2 separate regions of the Homo sapiens genome follow, and region 1 is linked to region 2. The links are contacts of gene promoters, found by promoter capture Hi-C in blood cells and fetal thymus (Javierre and others, 2016). All regions are on one chromosome and are shown on one strand. The core of a region is centred on a gene start or on the middle of the fragment in contact, and the rest is flanking DNA. Distances in the headings are between cores, read along the strand shown.

Region 1 (2,820 bases), core at 273-2,772, 2.2 Mb after region 2:
ATGGGAATGTATAATGCAGTGGCTCATGGGAATGTATAATGTATAATGTGGAAAAGTTTGGCAGTTCCTCAAAAAGTCAAACATAAAACTACCATATGACCCAGCAATTCCACTCCTAAGTAGATGTCCAAAACCCCTGACAGCAGGGTTGCAAACAGGTACTTGAACTCAGGAACGGAAAACCAAACATCATATGTTCTCACTGATATGTGGGAGCAAAACTATGAGGATGCAAAGGCATAAGAATGATACAATGGACATTGGGGACTTGGGGGGAAGATTGGAAGGTGGGGGCGAGGGATAAAAGACAACAAATATGGTGCAGTGTATACTGTTCTGGTGATGAGTGCACCAAAATCTCAGAAATCACCACTAAAGAACTTATTCATGTAGCCAAATACCACCTGTACCCCAATAACTTATCAAAAAATAAAACACAATTTTTAAAAAAACAGATACTTGTGTCCCAACATTCAGAGCAGCATATTCACAATAGCCAAAAGGTAGAAACAGCCCAATTGTTCATCAACAGAAGAATAAATGAGCAACATGTATTATATGTGCACAGGGGGATACTATTCAGTTATTAAAATGAATGGAATACTTATACTTCCTGCAAATATGGATGGACTTTGAAGATTTGCAATTCAAATCTAATGAATAGACAGGGCCGAGCATAATGGCTTATCCCTTTAATGCCAGGACTTTGGGAGGCTGAGGTAGGAGGATCACTTGAGCCCAGGAGTTTGAGATCAGCCTGGGCAACATAGCAAGACCTCATCTGTACAAAAAAATTGTTTAAATGCCAGGCATGGTGGTGTAGGCCTGTATTCTTGGCTACTGGCAGGGCTGTGGAGGGAGTCTCGCTTGGGTTCAGGAGGTTGAGGCTGCGGTGCACTAGGATACCACCACTGCAATCCAACATGGGGAAGAGAGCAAGATCCCTCTCTAAACATAAAAATTATAAAAATAACACACAAAATGGCTCAGCACGGTGGCTCATTCCTGTAATCCCAACACTTTGGGAGACCAAGGTGGGTGGATCACGAGGTCAAGAGATGGAGACCATCCTGGCCAATGTGATGAAACTCTGTCTCTACTAAAAATACAAAAATTAGCTGGGTGTGGTGGTTCCTGTGTGTAGTCCCAGCTACTCAGGAGACTCAGGCAGGAGAATCGCTTGAACCCGGGAGGCAAAGGTGGCAGTGAGCTGAGATCATGCCACTGCACTCCAGCCTGGTGACAGAGCAAGACTCCATCTCAAAATAATAAAAACAAAAACAAGTAAGTGTGTGTCTGTGCCCATGCCTCCGAGCAAGTTCGTGTCAGCATGCATAGCTGTGTTGTGTCCAGGTGAGTAGGCACATGTGCATGTGTGCGAGTGTTGGATGCTGGGGCAGTCAGGGTTAGAGTCACTCACAGTCAGCACCTGCTCTTCACTTCCTCATGCCTGGTTCCTACAGGCCCCCACAAGAAGCATGTAGGGCCCAAGCACCCCTTGCCACCTCTTAACCCCAAGCACAGGCATGAGAGGGTGAGGGTGGCCGACTGCAGGGCCCAGGCTTGGAGGACCCTGGAGCTGACTCCTGGTGCACATGCCACAACCGCCAGCCTGCCCTGGCCTGGCTCCTGGGAAACACTTGCCCTTGGCCAGCTGGAGAGGTGTTGATTTGGGACACAGCCCCACAGTGATCACCACTTTATCCCACCCCCAAATACTTCCTAAGGCCATTTATTGCTAGGAGATGGGCACAGGCAGCCTGCTGTGATGACTTCCTAGACACAGGCTCTGGGGACAGGAAGCCCATCTGGCCCCCTTCCTATGACATGGCTGGGAGGCAGGAGGTGGGCCTCGGGTAAGAAGGATAGATAAGGGCAGCTTGGGCAGGTTGGGGTGATCAGACCCAACATCAGGCCATGGGGGCTTCGAAGTCCAGCGGAGTCATAGGAATGAGAAAAGACAGGAAATAAAGTGGGACCAGGGGGCCAACACTAGTATGGAGGCTGCAAAGGCCCTGAGCTCTGGGAGCCCAGGCTATTTACTGGTGCTCAAACAAAGAAACACATGGTGAGGATGTGGGGGTTTAAAGGAAGCAATGTATCAAGTGAGTGAGCTACAGCTGCGATGGTGTAGCATTTTCTTTGAAACATGTGGCTACTTGAGATAATGGGAGTGCTAGAAGCAAGAGCTAGCAAGTCTAGCAGACATGCAAGCCCTGCCTCAGCTTCTCTCCCAACACTCAGCTTTTCTCCCAAAAGGACAGAGGAAGCAGCAGTAAGTCTCAGAGCCTCAGGACCAGAGGGGCCCCAGTGCCCCTTGGTCAGGATGCTGAGCCCAGAGAGGGCAAGATCCTGACTTGAGGTCACAGAGCAGCAATCCCTGGCAGAACTAGCATTCCTTTTGGAGAAATTCAGAGTTCATGGTCCCCAGGAGTCATTCATTTACTCATGCATTCATTCGGCAATTACATATGGAGCCTCTACTATATGCCAGGCCCACTTCTAGCCCCAGCATACAGCAGTGGACAAGACAAACCAATCCCCACCTCAAGGAGCTGATGCTCTGGTCACAGAGACAGAAAACAAGTGAAGAAGATCACATTACATGATGCTAAAGGCTAGCAAATAAAATTACACCACATGGAATGTTGGAGTCACTCTGTCCAAATGGTGGCCACTAGCCCCATATGGCTATTTGAGTTTCAAGCAATTGGAGTAATTGAAAATTAAGAGTTTAGCGGCCGGGCACGGTGGCTCACATCTGTAATCCCAGCACTTTGGGAGGCCGAGGCAGGCGGATCACGAGGTCAGGAGATGAAG
Region 2 (2,963 bases), core at 435-2,934:
AGGCGTACAATGAGTGGTTAGAAGACAAGTGTCACCAGGAATAAAGTGGGAGCAGGCTGGGGCAGAGGCTGAGTGGCCAGTCATCTCTATTGGCATCTCACTCAAGACATGGGCCGGGAGCTGAGGACACTGGAGACCACTTTGTTTCCTCATTGCTGTCAGGGGCCTCTGCTGCCCTCCCCACCCCCACTGCCCCTGTCAGCTCCTCCACCTCTAGGAATGGGGGTTTACTGCATCCCCTCTCCATGGCCGAGTTCAGGAGCTTCCCATGAGATTCACCCAAAAAGGGCACAGGCCTTTTCTATCCCATGGGGGCCTGAGGCCAGTATCAGGTGTCGGTCCCTGGTCTCCCCCATCTGCTGGGACCTTTCTCTCCTGCCAGGCTGTTTTGTCCTCAGCGAGGCCTGCCAGGATGACCAGGTGATGTCACCCAGTCCGCCTGTTCCATCCCCTGGCTCCCCCTCAAGCCCTCCTTCCACTAAAACCACGGGGATTTCAGGAATGACCTGGAAAGCGACGCCACCTCTGCAGAAGGGGCCTGTTACGCTGGGCCAGTAAAATGAGCGCCTGGAAAGGGGGGTCCCATCGCCCCTTTCTTGAAGACGCTGAGGGTCACCACAGAAGGAAAAGGCAGCAGCCCTGGTCCCCAGTGTGAGGAAAAGACCAATAAGCTGGCATCACTCTCTGCCACTCAATCTGACTTCATAAAAGCCACCAGGGGCCATTTCTGGGTGGGGGAAGAGGCAGGTAGGAAAAGCCAAGTGCATCGGGCTCCCGGGCCTCAGCCAGAGCCCAGGCTTAGTGGCACCTGAAGCCAGCCCTGGTGCTGCTGCACTGTGCACACTTTATAAAATGGGGCCGGGCATGGTGGCTCATGCCTGTAATCCCAGCACTTTGGGAGGCCAAGGCGGGTGGATCACTTGAGGTCAGGAGTTCCAGACCAGCCTGGCCAACATGGTGAATCCCCTTCTCTGCTAAAAATACAAAAATTTTCTGGGCGTGGTGACGGACACCTGTAATCCCAGCTACTTGGGAGGCTGAGGCAGGAGAATCGCTTGAACCCGGCAGGCAGAGGTTGCAGTGAGCCGAGATCGTGCCTTTGCACTCCAGCCTGGGTGACAGAGCAAGACTTTGTCTCTTAAAAAAAAAAAAAATGGACCTTGTGCCAGTTGTCTGGAGTGAACGTCCCCTGGCTGCCCCATCATGTCAGTGGAGAACACAGAGCCAGGCCCTGGGCTGGCAGGACACCCCCTCCTCTCCTGGGGGATTGAGAGCTGTGGGTGGGGGCCAGCCTGGCAGCAGGGCCTCTGAGCTGGCTGGAGATGTTTATTAATCCTGAGCTCCAGAGCTGGGGCCTCTCCGCTGAGCCTGCGCCTGCATGTGCACGTCTGTCTCCAGACCCATCTGTCCTGGCCCAGCTCCTTCCCTATCTGGGTGTAATCGCCACCGCGCTCCCCTGGGCATGTGGGTGTAACAAGTCCAAACCTTCTGTGGGAGTCGGGCAGGCTCGGCCCCACCCTCAAGGCTGTGCCCTTTCCTCCCAGACTGGTTATGCAAGAGCAGGCATGAGTGTGGTTTTTGTGGGTGCATGCGCGGCAGGCCTGGGGCCTGGCCGCCTGCTGCCTCACCTGCAAGGAGGGGCCTCCCAGAAACTCCCTTCCCCAATGCCCAGCCGCCCCACCTTGCCAGACTTAGCTGACCAGCCAGCAAGGACGCCCGCTGCCTCCCACCTGCCCTCCTGCCCTCCTTCACCAGCCAAGCCCAGCCTGAGCCAGCACCTGCCTTTATGACCATGTTCAAGGGACTGAGCAAAGGCTCCCAGGGGAAGGGGTCCCCCAAGGACTCCCCAGCCAAGGGGTCCCCCAAAGGCTCCCCCAGCAAGCACAGCTGGTGAGTGGGACTAGGGGATGGGGAGCCAGGGAGCTAGGGTGGGGGTGGTGCCAGGCCCAGGTCCTTGAGCCACCTGGCGGCGGCCCAGAGCCCAGGACCAGCCCCGTGCTGGCATTTGGTGTCCCGAGGACAAAGGGCCCAGGGGTGGACTCTCTCCCTGCCTTGGGAGCCGCAGGCCCAGGCCGAACTTCAGCCCTGGCAGGAGGCAGGGGATGGCCTGGGGCTCCCTACATCCTCTAAGGGGGCCTGTGGGCCACAGATTGATGCTGCTCAGCGGGAGAAGTGCCGGACAGGAGCCTGCACTGATGCCCTCCTCTGCCAGAGGCTGGGACACAGGAGAGCCTGGTTGTGTGACTGCAGCTCTGCCCCAAGGCTCTACTTGGCTGGGATGACCCCTGGAGCCTGGGTGCAGGGCATGAGGACTGAGGGGGTGGGGTGGGATCCCTGGGGTAGGGATGCAGGGGCTGTGCTGCCTCCTGCCTAAGCCAGAGCCCTCCCCAGAGCTCTCACCCAGGGCCTTGTTGTATTGAAGAGTTAGGGGTTCATGGCTGGGCGCGGTAGCTCACGCCTATAATCCCTGACTTTAGGAGGCCAATGCGGGAGGATTCCTTGAGCCCAGGAGTTTGAGACCAGCCTGGGCAACATAGGGAGATCTTGTTTCTATAAAAAAAATAAAAATAAAAAACAGCCAGGTATGGTGGCTCATGCCTATTGCTTGAGCCCAGGAGTTTGAGGCTTCAGTGAGCCATGATCACACCACTGCGCTCCTGCCTGGGTGACAGACTGTGACTCTGTCTTTAAAAAAAAAAAAAATCCTGGTGCAATACCTCATGCCTGCAATCCTACCACTTTGGGAGGCTGAGGCGGGTGGATGACTTGAGCCCAGGAGTTGGAGACCAGCCTGGGCAACATGACGAAATCCCATCTCTATAAAAAATATACAAAAATTATCTGGATGTAGTGGTGCATGCCTGTAGTCAGAGCTACTTGGGAGGCTGAGGTGAGAGGATCACTTGAGCCCGGGAAGTCGAGGCTGCAGTGAGCCGTGATCACTCAACTGCACTCTAGCCTGG

What was found. The method cuts DNA at HindIII sites, captures the fragments that hold promoters and counts their contacts. A CHiCAGO score of 5 or more calls a contact.
Region 1: a fragment that was not itself captured here is called in contact with the fragment with the promoter of EVPLL in region 2 in 10 of 17 cell types (erythroblasts, total CD4 T cells, M1 macrophages and 7 more); the score reaches 21.3 in erythroblasts.

What each region holds. Positions count from the first base shown.
Region 1 is chr17:20,561,234-20,564,053 of GRCh38, forward strand. No RefSeq gene overlaps it. Among named protein-coding and RNA genes, the nearest start is that of CDRT15L2, 17 kb to the right of the region's middle. The HindIII fragment of the contact is 4,651 bases long and covers 1-2,820 here.
Region 2 is chr17:18,376,094-18,379,056 of GRCh38, forward strand. EVPLL (envoplakin like) reads left to right here and starts at 1,685. Exons shown (of 11, transcript NM_001145127.2): 1 at 1,685-1,890. The HindIII fragment of the contact is 15,578 bases long and covers 1-2,963 here.